Linked DNA regions of Homo sapiens: regions 2, 3 and 4 are each linked to region 1. The links are contacts of gene promoters, found by promoter capture Hi-C in human tissues and cell types (Jung and others, 2019). All regions are on one chromosome and are shown on one strand. The core of a region is centred on a gene start or on the middle of the fragment in contact, and the rest is flanking DNA. Distances in the headings are between cores, read along the strand shown. Region 1 holds the start of TTLL11 (tubulin tyrosine ligase like 11). Region 2 overlaps DAB2IP (DAB2 interacting protein). Region 3 overlaps DAB2IP (DAB2 interacting protein). Region 4 has its middle 27 kb from the start of PTGS1.

Region 1 (3,483 bases), core at 323-2,822:
CAAACTCCTGACACTCCTGAAAGCACATTAAATACCTTATATGCTGCAAATAAAGTCAAATGGCTTTATCCACGTAGCCAATTGCAACAGACACCTCTAGAGTCACTGGTGCTACATTCCATCCCCTGCCAGTCTAAAATGGGCTCAGGGATGATAACTCATGTATTCATTCACCCTTTCATTCACTGCTTACTGACACATGCCGTAAGCCAAGCCTGGAATATAAAATACAGTGCCTGATTTTATACCACTGATCATGAGGACAGTGGTGGTGCTGGTGGTGGTGATGGTGATGATGGTGGAAGAAGAGAGAAAGGAGAAGGTGGTAACGTAAGTTACCATTTATTGCAGACTTGTGCTATAAAACACTAAGTAGTGAGTCTTCTAATGCTAACAAGATGATGAGATAAGTATAATTGGCCTCACTTTACAGAGAAGGTAATAGGCTGAAGAGGTGAAGCAACTTACTCAAGGTCACACAGCTAAGTAGCAAAGTGTAGTGAGACCCTAGGCCTGTCTGCCTCCAAAATAAAAAGTGTTCCTCTGCCCAAGAGTCACACAGCAAGTGCTAAACAAATATAACTTCAATGAAGAAGTGAGAGAGCGGGTCCGGGGCCCCAGGGGCTTACAAGCTGGTGGAGGAGACAGACGTACACATATCTACAAGCAGAGGCAAATGCTGATGGCTGAGACATAAAAAGAGCTGCAGGGAGGCAGAGGAGTGAGTGGCTAACTTGACCTGGAGGGGTCTGGGGGGCCCTCTTGGAGGAAGTGATTTTGGGGGGTAGGCCTTGAAGGATGAGCACTTTGCGGCTGACAAGCAGGCCCGAGCGTGGTGCACCGCAGGAGCTCAGCCCTCGCCCGCCGACCTGACCTGGGCCGTGCCGAGACCTCTGAGGTCGTCCTGTCCACCCCACTGTGCCCACGCGGCCGGGTCGGGCCGGGCCTCACCTCCTTCCACTTGAGCTGGCGGATGCTGATCTTCAGGGCATCCAGGGAGGTCCTGGCCTTGGAGCTGTCCACGGTGACCGGCCGCTGGGAGCCGTTCTCGCCGGAACCGTGGCCCGAGCTCCGCTTGCAGCTTCGGCCCTTGTCCCGGGGCTTCCCGTGCGGGCAGAGGCCCTGCACCGGCTTCGGCTTGGACGGGGGCAGCGTGGGCGGCGGCCGCTGAAGGACCTGGGTGTTCCCCTCCTCAGCCGCACTGGGCTGCGCCGGGGCCGGGGCCAGGACCTTGGGCTGCTCCTCCCCTGCCTTGCACTCCGGTTCCCCGGCCGCGCCCGCGTCCACGCGGACCTGTTCCGCCACCGTCTCCGCTGTGGCCTCGGCCTCAGCTTTGGCCGCCGCTTTGGCCGCAGCCACCGCCTCCGCCTCCCACCGGGCCGCCAGCTCGCTCTCGGAGCTGCCCCGCCGCATGGTGCTCAGGGCCGGGGCCAGTGCCAGTGCCACCGCCGCCGCCGCCGCCGCTCCGCCGCCCCAGTCCGCCACCAAACTGCCGCCGCTGCAGCCGCTGCCACGCGTTCCCCGCCCGAGCCCGTTGCCATGATCGCTCAGGCTCGGGTTGACAGCGGCAGTCACCGCATCGAGACGGGGTCCGGGAAGGGACAATCGCCGGCCGAGCCCCAGCGACCTCATAGGCGAGGCTGCCCACGTGACCCTGCCTGTCACAGAGGCAGCGGCGGCCATGTTGGAAGAGGGCAAAGAGCCGCCAGGACCCGCCCACCCCGCGGATGCGCTGGATCTCGAGGGCGCAGAACTCGGAGTGGCGAGGAGAAGCGGGAGGGCAGATTGAGCGCGCGTGGGGCTCGTGAGCCTGGGGACTGGGAGTAAAAACAACTACCTCAAGCAGGAGGCTCAGTCCCCGCCAACACTCGCTGGGATAACTCTCGATAGGACGGAGGAGGAGCCCCCCAGTGGGACCCTCCTCAGTGCAATGGATGGGACCCTCCTCAGTGCAATGGATGGGACCCTCCTCAGTGCGATGGATGTGAGCAGCCCAGGCCCTAGGGGAGCAGAGAGTGTTCCGCTGAAGAAACCCTCTGCTGGTCCTTTGAGCGCCCCCAGATAAGAGGGGAGGCACTTTTCCCTGTTCTCAGGGAGCTCCCGATGGGATGGGGAAGTCATGGGCATGGGTAAGCCCCCTATAGATTCCCACTCGAGTTGAGGATATTAACGATTTTTTCTTTTTCTTTTCTTTTTTTCTTTTTTTTTTTTTTTTTTAGACAGGGTCTCTCTCTGTCGCCCAGGCTGGAGTGCAGTGGCGCGATCCCGGCTCACTGCAGCAGCCTCAACTTCCAGAGCTCAAGGGATCCTCCCACCCCAACCTCCCGAGTAGCTGAGACTACACGAATGTACCACCACTCCCGGCTAAGTTTTGTGTTTCTCGTAGAAACGTGGTTTCGCCATGTTGCCGAGGCTGTTCTCAAACTCCTGACCTCAGGTAATCTGCCAGCCTCGGCCTCCCAAAGTACTAGGATTACAAGCAGAACCACCGCGTCTCTTGTTTTCTTTTTTGTTTTTGTTTTTGTTTTGTTGTTGTTGTTGATGTTGTTACAGAGTTTCGCTCTTGTCGCCCAGGCTGGGATGCAATGGTGTGATCTCGGCTCATTGCAGCCTCCGCCTCCCGGCTTCAAGCAATTCTCCTGCCTCAGCCTTGTGAGTAGCTGGGATTGCAGGAGCCGGCCACCATGCCCGGCTAATTTTTTGTATTTTTAGTATAGACGGGGTTTCACCATCTTGGCCAGGCTGGTCTCTAACTCCCGACCTCAGATGATCCACCCGCCTCAGCCTCCCAAAGTGCTGAGATTACAAGCGTGAGCCACCACGTCCAGCCTGACTGCTTTTACTTATATCACTTTTTTTGTTGTGGTAAAATATAACAAAATTTGCCATTTTAACCATTTTTAGTGTACAATTCAGTGGCATTCTGTATACTCACATTGTTGTGCAACCAGCACCACTATGGGTCTCCGGAACTCTTTTATCTTACCAAACTGAAACTTTGTGTCTATGAAACAATAAGTCGGGATTCCCTTCTCTCCTAGTCCCTGGGAACCACCATTTCTACTTTCTGACTATGAATTTGACTATTCCTGGTTCCTCATGTCAGTGGAATCATACAGTATTTGTCTGGCTTATTTCACGTAGCATAATGTCCTCAAGGTTTCTCCATGTTGTAGCATGAGTCCAAATTTCACTCATTTTTAAGACTGAAAAATATTTCGTCGTGTGCATACACCACCTCGTTTTTATCCATTCATCTGTCAATGGACTTAGGTTGTTTCCACCTTTTGGCTATTGTGAAGAATGTCGGTTAACATTGGTATACAAATACCTGTTTGAGCCCCTGCTTTCCATTTTTGGGAGTTGCCATCATTTTAAAGCCAAACCAAGGAGAAAGCTCTCCCCTCCCACCTGAGGGAGCCGCATTTGTTTTTTTAGGAAGTGGGGTTGAGAAGGTGTAACAGCACCCCAGACTGACCACAG
Region 2 (3,110 bases), core at 333-2,832, 350 kb before region 1:
CAGCTCAGAGAAGGCCAAGCAGGCAAGGTTGTGGGGCACCTGGAAGGTGGGTGTCCAGCGGCCTGGCTGCTGACCTAGGCTCAGGGAACCAGCATTTGGTGGGTGAGCTGTGAGGAACGGGCCTTGACCCTAGGCTGCAGGGCTAATGAGGGCCTTTAGCCAGAGGCTCCCAGCACAGGTGAGGGGGAAACTGCCGGTGCCCCTGTGCCCTCGCGCTCTCCCAGCCCTGCCTCTCTGAGACAGATTTAATAATCCATGTCTGTCTCTCTCTCTCTCAGTTAGTATTGCAGGAGGGAAGCTTTACTTCTAAAACTTTTATTGATCCAGACACTAATAAAAGTAAAGGGTTTTTTTTTCTTCTTTCCTGCTAGAGCAAAGAACATCAGACATCAGAGCCCTAAAACACAAATGTGTTTTCCTCCTCCCTAGATCTGGGAGGGAGTTGTGGGTTGGCCTTGTTCAGATCTAGCCTCTTCAAGAAGCCTCCCTAACTTCTCAGGCCTGCAGTCATCCACCTGTTCCAGAGCAGTTAAACGAAACTGCCACATGTGCCTCTGTCTGACCCCAGAAGGCTGGGCTGTCACAGAAGCTTTCCTTCCCACCTGAGGTCCCCAGGGTTAGGGAGAGACGCCATGGGAGGCATTCAAGACCTGGCTCTTGATTTCTTGTGTCTCTCAGGGTTTGGGGTTTGGTTCTTTGGCTGCTCTGGTCTTTGTTTTTGCATCTTGATTTCATCAGGACTTACTGAGCTCTTATACTGTGTCAGACCCTCTCTTAAGACACAGAAATACAACACGTAGAGCTTGGCCACACACAGCTTACCTTGTGATGGGAGAGGCAGATAAGAAATAAGCAGAGAAACAAAGTGATTCTGCTTTGGGAAACATAGTGAAGTTCCCCTACTGAAATGTGAGTCAGGGAATTTCTGTCTGCTTTGTTCAGCACCTGTGTTCCCAGTGCCTAAATAGTGCTTGGCACATAGTTTGCACTTAAATATTTGCTAGCTGCATGAGCAAGATGCTATGAAGGAAACAAGCCAAGTGTTCCACTAGGGAGTAATGGGGGCAGGGCAGGACCTGTTGTAGATGGAGCAGTCAGGGAAGGATTGAGTTGCAGAAGATGCCAGAAGCCTGCCAGTTTGCTGTTAGAGTGTGCTGGAGCAAGAACTCCTAGCCTAGGGAGCAGCAAGTACAAAGTCCTTGAGCAGGAAACAGAGACTTTGGTGTGTGTGGTGGGGGGCGTTGGGTGTTGCTGGATGAGGTCAGAGAGTAGGTAGGTCATGACTGCCAATGTCTTTCACCTGGGTAGCAGTTCAGATTTATTCAGTGCAGTGGGGAGTAATTGAAGGCTTTTAAGGTGAGGAGTTCAGTAATCTGATTTGCATTTCTGAAGGGTCCCTCTGACTCCCCTGGTAGGGGTAAGGGGAAGCCCAGTGGTTGGGGAGGCTGCCCGGACAGCAGGCTGCCTGGGGAAGATGGAGAGGAGTAAACAGGTATGAGGGATTTCAGAGGGGGTAGCAGCAGGATTTGTGTTGGATTGGATTCCAAAGGCCAGGGAAAGGAAGGGCTCCTGGCTTTGCTACTGAGGCTCCACGCTGGACATTTCAGACGTGAAGCTCCGAGAGGTGTCCCAGAGGCGCTGTCAGGCAAGCATGGAGACACATGGGTCCGGAGCTCAGAGGAGGATAGGGCTGGGGATGCACTTAGGAGTCGTGAGCATGCTGGAGGTATTTAGAGCTATGGGAGTGGAAAGAATCACCAAAGGAAAGTGTTGTGCTAAGGAAGTGTCTCCGAAACAGCCCTGAGGAGCTCCAGCACTGGGAGGAAAGGAGGTGAGGTGCTAGCAGCCTGTGAGAACAGAGGAAAGCTGGAGCAGGGTGGCCTGGGTTCACGGGGTAGTAAGGCACAGAAACTGGTTGACTTTGGCAACATGAAGGCCTTTGGTGTCCTCAAGGAGACCCAGTGGGGTCGGAACAGACAGGTGTGTTGAGTAGGAAAAGGAGGTGAGAAGGTGGCGGGGACAGCAGTGAGCAAAGAAGTGCGTGAGGACCCAGCTGGCCCAGGATGTTGAGGAGGGGAGGGCCAGGGAGGGGCCTGAATGTTCTCTGTCCACAGCGTAGGTTTACCAGCAGCAGCTGACCCAGTGGATCTCAGCCTGGAGATTCTGATTCAGGAGCGCCGATAGGCCCCCCACAGTGATCTTTCCCAGCTCTCTGAGCCCTCTCCACCCACTCTCTGGAAGGCTTGCTCACTGTGCCCTGTCACGTTTTTGGACTGAATGCTGAGTCTGTTGACCCTGTGTTCCCCCCGTCAGCCCCTTTCCTTACACCAGTCTCTCTGGGTCCACGGCCCCTAAATAAGAGTATCCTGGAGCCTGGCTTACCTCAAGTGTCTTTCCCAGAGCAGAGCTAGACTTCCTTTACACCAAGGGTATTTCTCTGGAAGGCTCCTTTATGTGTTTGGCTTCTGGAGAAGTTTGAGATGTTTTACACAATATTTTGGTGGCCAGGAGCTCTAACCCTCACCCCCAACAACCCTGCCCCAAGACTTTTTGCTGGCTCTGGGGAGGGTTCAGAATGCATCGGCTTGAGGGTGCAGGGTTGGCATACACAGCTGGAGATAACATAATGTCTGCTAGACGCCTGGTGGGTTTCAGTGTCTGTTGAATGAATGGCACTCAGATATTTGAGTTTGGGGTTCCCAGTTGCTTTGTTAAATGCTTTTCCTGGTTAACCAGTGTTTTTACATCTGTTATCTGCAGGGGATAGTGTATTACCTCATTTTATACATGAGGAAACTGAGACTCAGGAAAGTAAAAGGATTTGTCCAGGGTTCCACAGTTGCTAAATGACACGACCAGAATTGGAGCCTGGGCCTGCAAAACCCCCAAATTGGGCCTCTTCTTACTGACTAATCCTGGGGGTGAGGTAGTAAGGGTGGAGGTTAAGGCACCCAGGTCTCCTACTACCTCTCAAGAATAGTGGCCAGATGTTCTGCCAGGGCTCCAAGGCATTCCTTCTGCCTCCCACCCACCTGTTTCCTCTGATGCTCGACACCCCCTCCTCTCCCCACATGCGCACCAGATGCATTCGGCTCCAGGAAGATAGGATG
Region 3 (3,619 bases), core at 625-3,124, 390 kb before region 1:
GGACTTATTCTTCTGAAACGGCCTCAGGGGAGGTTGCCAGCTGGTCTCCACAGTCTCTGGGTCCCTCAGACACTCATTTCTTCTTCAGAAGCTTTGGCAGTAAGCACCAAGGACAGGTGATCATTTCTCCTGGGTAACAAACACATGCTGCTTGGAGCGCTTTCCAGGTGAAAGGTGTGCCGGCAAAAGCATTTTCATTTTGCACACTGGAAATGCTGCTGCTTCATTTACAGGGCTGTTTTAATGTTGGTAAAAGTGATATAGAGGATGTGGTTCTGTCAGCCCAGAGGATAATTTCCAAGTCATTCATTTATTTATTAATGTTACTGAGGAGCTAGGAGGGTCAGTTGGCAATATTATGCTTTCCTCATTCCTTCTCTCTCCTGATGCTGTTTCTGGGTGACTCTAGCCCTCCACACCTGCTGGGAATATGCTTCCTTTGGCATGCTACCTGTCTAAACTTACCACAGTAGTTACTCTAAAGTGTCTGTACCCCCATCAAGCTCTTCCCAGTCATCCTGGTGCGGAGCTTAGCTCATAAATGCAGGCAGCTCTGGGGCAGGTAGGCAAGGCTGCTATGTGTGGAGTTAGGGATCGATTCCCCCTTCCAGAGTATGTGTGTGCTGGCTGGCGTTCCCACACCTGAAAGTTACTAATGGTGGAATTCCAAGTGATAAGGGACTAGGGAAGGAGATACAGTACTTGGATGTTGGGGATGGCAGCTTCCAGGGACCCTCACCTGGACCTGGGTAGGCAGGAATCAATTCTGCCCCTTGTGGTGAGACAGTCCCTGGAGGAGGGAGAGTGAGGAAGGTTGATGAGGAACAGGGGAAATGGAAGTTAGGGTCTATTTTCCTGCTTTAGTTGCTGACAGTAAGTGCAGGCAGGACTGGGCACCCAAGTCTGGTGTTTCTTGCCCTTGTTCCCTCCCCTACTATAGACAGGGAGGGCCTGGTCCTTTTTTTGGGGACTAGTCTGTCTAGTGTGGTGATGTCAAGATGATAGTGCAGTTTAGACAATTGCCAGGAGTCATGGGATGTATGTGATCTTTGGATTTGAAGCCAAGCATTCCTGGGGCAAGTCACGTAACCTTTTGCAGCCTCAGTTTGCTCATCTGCAGAATGGGCATCATGATAATCATGTTGTTGAAGACATTAACATTAATACATTTAGCACACTTTTCATAGAAATTTTCTGGTTCAGTGCTGTTTTCTTAGCATTTAACACTGGGTCTTGCACATTTCTTAAATGTTTCTAAAATTTAATTAAATAATGTGTGAAAGAGGTTAGATTAATATGTCATAGGTTTTCAGTTAATATTGGTAGGGTTAAGTCACCTCGTCTTGGTAAGCCTCAGTTTTCTCATCCACAGTGTGGGAATAATAAGCAATCATGTGGCCTCATCCTGAGGTTCAAGAGATAATAGATGTTGCTGTGCCTGGTAAGGTGATTCGAGCTTAAGATGGGTCATTATTGCCTTAAACTTAAGAAACAGCCATTATTACCTAGAGCACAGGATGTTTTCCTAGGGATTCCTGCTTACACCTGGGAAAGCAAAGCTCTCATGTGTGTTTTAATAATCAGTTTTAAAAGTTCATTGTTCCATCTTCCGTTTGGGTCATACTTGTTTTTAATCATTTAGGCATTTAGGTTATGTCTAGGTTTTCTTTATTAAAAATGACACTGGGATTTAAATCCTTGAATATTTATCTTTGCCTACATTTCTGATTTTTCCCAAAGGATAAAGTCTTAGAAACAGAATTACTAGGTCTAAAAATATGAAGAGTTTGAGATTTTTCTTAGAAAAATGTCACCCACCAAAATCCTGTAATAATTCATACCCCTCCCCAGTGATTTTTGAGAGTGCTTACCTGTTTCCTCACACCCTTCAAAACATTGGATGTCATCATTAAAGCAGTCTTTATCGTTTGGATAGGCAGAAAAAGGGCATTTTTTTGTTATTTGCATTCATTTGCTTGTTGGTGATCGAATAGTGCTTTCCTGAGTTTCATGGCCAGTGGCAGTGCTTCTTTTGAGACTTGTCTATTCCTGTCCTTTGCCTGAGTGTTCTGACAAGCCTCTTGCAGGATTCTTGGTTGCCCTGTTTGGTCTTCCTCAGCTCTGAGAGGTCCCATGTAGGTGGATCCTACACGTTAAATGAGCCTCTGCCTTCCAAGAGGTATGACAAGGAATTCATTAATTACCTGTAAGGAAGGCTCACCTGGCTGTCCTCTCCTCCTCCCCCTCCCTTCTTCTTTCCACCTTCCTCCCGTCCTCTCCTCTCCATAAGGAAATCAGGTTTAATTCCTAATCCTATCATTCATAAGGATGCCCTGTATTTACACAGCACTTTAAGAGGTCTTCTGCCCTGTAGGGTAGGTAGGCAGTGAAAGGGCTGCTCTATGGCCAGGAAAACTGAGGCACACAGTCAAAGGCATGGAGCTGGGGCCTATGCAGAAGCCAGGCATTGGAACCAGATCCCCTCTCAACTGCAGCATTGTACTTGAGCCCCATGGGCACCTTTGGGGGCAGGGCTGACCGGCCCAGGAGCACATGATTCTGAGTCTCATCTCTAGAGAGGAAGGGGAGAGCCACAGAATACGACCTGGACGTATAGAAGAATCAATTTATTTTTTGCTTTCTCATTTTTATTACTCTCCTTTAGATCTGGAGCTCCCTTGTGTACCTTCCCAAGATCTGAGCTGGGCAATGTTTTTAGGAACGGTGGAAATTAGCTAGTGAGAATGGGATCAGCAAGGCTGGGGTTTCAAAGGCTGGAGAAGCCTTTCTTTGCACAAGCATATGTTTGTCTGTGTACGTCTTTTGTATGTGTTGCAAGTGTGCACCTGTCCTCATGAAGATGTGTGTACATTATATGTTAATGTCCTTATACATGTCTGTGCATTTAATTGAGTTAATACAGGTGAAGTATTTGGAACAGTGCCTGGTACATCATATGGGGTGAGACTGTATAAAGTTGCTGTTTTGGGAGGCCAAATACAGGCAATTGCATATGATTCAATCTATGTGTTCAGGTTAAGTGTTGGCTACTATTGTTATTATCGTGTGTTTTCTTCTTGGGTATGCATCTGCCAGTTGTTTGTACATGTCTGTGTACGTATACCCTGTTGTGCCCATGTGTATAGTGTGTTCTGTGAGCACTCACGTGCATACTTGTGTGCATGTGTGCACTTTCTGTCTGGGTGCATGGACACTGAGCTGGCCGGTGTGTGAATAAGCTCCCCACCTTCTTGGGGAGAACTTCCCAGAGAGCAACTCTTTGCCTCCCCTCTCACCTTCGGTTACCAGGCAGAGCCCAGGCCCAGGTGCCAGGCCTGACAGGTGCCATGGGACTGCTTTCATTCTCCTCCAGGTAGCCCTGCCTATTTCCAGGCCCCATATTAGAATATGCAAATCGACTCTTTAATGGAATTCCTTTGCAAAATATTACTTGAACCAGTAAGTTAATTACCAGGCTCTAATTAATGGCTATTTTAGAAGGCCACAGAACAAAACTGGAGGAGATCATAAGAGACCAAAAAGGCAAGAGGGAAAAGCATCCAGCTCCCCCAGTCGGCTTGGTGACTCCTTCCAGGGTGGCAGGGTGTGCTTAGCTTCT
Region 4 (3,400 bases), core at 258-2,757, 300 kb after region 1:
CACATCCTACACGTGTAACCAATATATGTATATTATTATTCAAGTTCCAATAATCAAATAATACACAAACCACTGTATTATTTGATTATTGGAAATCAAATAATAATAATAATAATAATAATAATAATAATATACATATATTCTGTTGGTTCTAATTCTCTGGAGAACCCCGACTAATACAATGGGTGATTCATTCAGGACTCTCAATGCAAACAACAGAACATTCTCTAGCCTGTATAAGCAGGAAGGAATTTATTATAGGACATTACATAGCTCATGGAGCCACTGGGAGGACCAGGGAATTAGGCTTGGAGGGTTTGCACCTAGGAATGGTGGCCACTGTCCAGTGGAGATGCCTCTACTACTGCCATGGACACAGCATCTCAAATGACACCTTTGCTGCCCAAACCCCACTACTGCTGCCTTCCAAAACAGGCTGCTTCTACAGCCACTTTTGCTGGAAAATGGAATCTGTGTGATACTTGCTTCCTCTCTTTTCTCTACTTAGAATTAAAATTATCTTTATTTTGTGTCGGATTGGTGGAGCCCAGCTCATGTGTCTGTACTGCAGCTACAAGAAAGAATGGAAAGTGAGTTTTCTGGTTTGTGCCTTGAAAAGGAGGAACCCATGATAAGGAAAATTCCTCATACATAGGGAAGGTGTTCAAAGGGGCTGGGAAACGTGGAAAGTCTGCTTCAGTGAATCTGAATTTTCTTAGTTCTGTTCTGCCTCTGTGGGCCCTATCCCTAGAATGTTACAAAGACCATCACAATGGCCTTACTGTTGACCTGGTAGCAGCTCGATATAGTTGCAAGCAAAGAGCTTAAGAAGTGAAGTTATGTAATTATAGAACAACAGAGAAACAAAGACTGTTGGGTACACACAGTCCACTCTTTTAGTAATTTTTGAGTTAAAAAAAGTGTCAGAAACGCAGGAGGCAGAGCAAGAAGGCAGAATAGAAGCTTCTACCAATTGTCTTCCCCACAGGAACACCAAATTTAACAACTGTCTACACAAAAAATGCACCTTCATTAGAACCAAAATTCAAGTGAATGATTGTAGTACCTGGTTTTAACTTTATATTACTGAAAGAGGCACTGAGGAGGGTAGGAAGGATGGTCTTGAATTGCCAGAGCCATCCCTCCCCGATCCCTGGCAGCAGCCACATGGCACAGAGAATCTGTGTAGGGAGAGTGTAGTGGTTGTAGGACTTTGTGTTAGAACTCAGTGTTGCCTTGTTACACTGGAAAGCAACACCAGGCAGAACTCAGCTAATACCCATGAGGGAGAATTTAGATCAGCCCTAGCCAGAGGGGAAGCATCCATCCCAGTTGCTGAATGGGCTAAAGGGCTCTGGGGTTCTAAATAAACTTGAAAGGCAGTATAGGCCACAAGGATTACAACTCCTAGGAAAGTCTGATCTGCGCTTGGAGCCAGTGGACTTGAGGGGCATGTGACCTGCTGCGATAGCCAAGGGAGTGCTTGTGCCACCCCTCTCCCAACCCTAGGCAGTGCAACTCACAGCTCTCAAAGAGACTCCTTCCTTCAGCTTGAGGAGAGAAGAGTAAAGAGGACTTGTCTTGCCACTTGGATACCAGCTCAGCCACAGTAGTTTAGGGCACCGGGCAGAGTCCTGAGGCACCCATTCCAGGACCTAACTTCCAGATGACATTTCTAGACATATCCTGGGCTTATATGGGCCATATAAGGCAGAAGGGAACCTGTTGCCTTGAATGAAAGGATCTAGTCCTGATAGTATTCACCACCTGCTGACTAAAGTGCCCTTGGGCCCTGAATAATCAGCAGCAGTAGCCAGGTAGTACACACTATGGCCCTTGAGTGAGATTCTGAGATGTGCTGACTTCAGGTGTGACCCAGCACATTCCCAGCTGTGGTGGCTATGGGGAGAGACTCCTTCTACTTGAGAAAAGCAGGGGGAAAAGTAAAGGGGATTTCATCTTGCAGCTTAGGTACTAGCTCGGCCACAGTGGGGCAGAGCACCAAGTGGGCTCTCAGTATCCCTGATTCCAGGCCTTGGCTCTCGCACAGCATTTCTGGACCTGACCTGGGCCAGAGGGGAGACCACTGCCCTGATACGTGAGTCCTAGGTCTGGCAGCATTCACCACAAGCTTCCTGAAGAGCTCTTGGCCTTGTGTGAACATTGGTGGTAGCCAGGCAGTACTCCCCATGGGCCTGTGGTGGTGCTGGCCATGGGGAGAGACTCCTCTGCCTGTGGGAAGGGGAGGGATGAGTGGGAAAGACTTGACTTGTAGCTTTGTCTGCAGCTCAGCTGCAGTAGAATAGAACACAAGGCAGATTCTTAAGATTTTCAACTCCAGGCTCTGGTCCCCAAACAGCATCTACGGACCTGCTTGGGGGAACTCGCTGCCCTGAAGGGAAGGACACAAGCTTGGCTGACTTACTGCCTGCTAACTGCAAAGCCCTAAAGCCTTGAGTAAACAAAGGTGGTGGTAGCCAGGTAGTGGTTATAATGGGCCTTGGGTAAGAAACAGTGCTGTGCTGGCTTCAGGTCTGACCTAGTGCAGTCCCAGTGGTGGTGGCCACAGGGGTGCTTGTGCCACCCCTCCCCCAGTTGTAGGCAGCTCAGCACAGAGACAGAGAGACTCTGTCTGTTTGGGAGAAAGTAAGGGAAGAGAACAAGAATATCTGCCTGGTAATCCAGACAATTCTTCCAGATCTTATCCAAGACCATCAAGTGGTACCTCTACAAGTCTGCAAGAGCCACAGCATTACTGGGCTTGGGGTGCCTCCTAATGCTGATATGACTATGGTGACCAAAAACTTAGATGACAACACCCAAGTCCCTTCGAATACCTGGAAAGCCTTCCCAAGAAGGCTTTCCCAAGAAGCCCAGACTGCAAAGACTACCACAAATATCTAACTTTTCAATGTCCAGACACCAGTGAACATCCACAAGCATCAATACCACTCAAGAAAACATGACCTTACTAAACAAACTAAATAAGTCATCAGGGATTTATCCTAGAGAGATAGAAATATGTGATCTTTCTCTATCTCTCAGAGAGAGGTCATATATCTACACCTCTAGGCTTTTCAGACAGAGAATTTGAAATAGCTATTTTGAGGAAACTCAGTGAAATACAAGATAATACAGAGAAGGAATTCAGAATCCTATCAGATCAATTTAACCAAGATATTGAAATAATTAAAAAGAATCAAGCCGAAATTCTGAAGCTGAAAAATGCAACTGACTACTAAAGAATGCATCAGAGTCTCTTAATAGCAGAATTGATCAAAGAGAAGAAAGAATTAGTAACATTTCTATGTGAAAACAGTGAAAATTCTGAAAATAGTAATCCCATTTACGATAGCTACAAATAAAATTAAGTACCTGGAAATTAATCAAAGAAGTGAAA

The links. The method cuts DNA at HindIII sites, captures the fragments that hold promoters and counts their contacts. A contact is called where the count stands out against the background at its distance.
Region 2: a contact is called between a fragment that was not itself captured here and the fragment with the promoter of TTLL11 in region 1, in 1 of the 25 tissues and cell types used here (dorsolateral prefrontal cortex).
Region 3: a fragment that was not itself captured here is called in contact with the fragment with the promoter of TTLL11 in region 1 in 1 of the 25 tissues and cell types used here (pancreas).
Region 4: a fragment that was not itself captured here is called in contact with the fragment with the promoter of TTLL11 in region 1 in 1 of the 25 tissues and cell types used here (lymphoblastoid cells).

The regions. Positions count from the first base shown.
Region 1 is chr9:122,091,736-122,095,218 of GRCh38, forward strand. It overlaps TTLL11 (tubulin tyrosine ligase like 11), which reads right to left and starts at 1,573. Exons shown (of 9, transcript NM_001139442.2): 1 at 952-1,573. The coding sequence starts at 1,413. LOC124902263 (a long non-coding RNA gene) reads left to right here and starts at 2,397. Exons shown (of 2, transcript XR_007061757.1): 1 at 2,397-2,437; 2 at 3,439-3,483. RefSeq lists enhancers at 1,101-1,814, 1,564-1,753 and a silencer at 1,164-1,213. The HindIII fragment of the contact is 16,076 bases long and covers 1-3,483 here.
Region 2 is chr9:121,738,075-121,741,184 of GRCh38, forward strand. The region is part of intron 3 of DAB2IP (DAB2 interacting protein); the gene reads left to right. Among named protein-coding and RNA genes, the nearest start is that of DAB2IP, 88 kb to the left of the region's middle. RefSeq lists an enhancer at 1-571. The HindIII fragment of the contact is 7,838 bases long and covers 1-3,110 here.
Region 3 is chr9:121,702,435-121,706,053 of GRCh38, forward strand. The region is part of intron 3 of DAB2IP (DAB2 interacting protein); the gene reads left to right. Among named protein-coding and RNA genes, the nearest start is that of DAB2IP, 53 kb to the left of the region's middle. The HindIII fragment of the contact is 7,572 bases long and covers 1-3,619 here.
Region 4 is chr9:122,396,586-122,399,985 of GRCh38, forward strand. No RefSeq gene overlaps it. Among named protein-coding and RNA genes, the nearest start is that of PTGS1, 27 kb to the left of the region's middle. The HindIII fragment of the contact is 3,359 bases long and covers 1-3,187 here.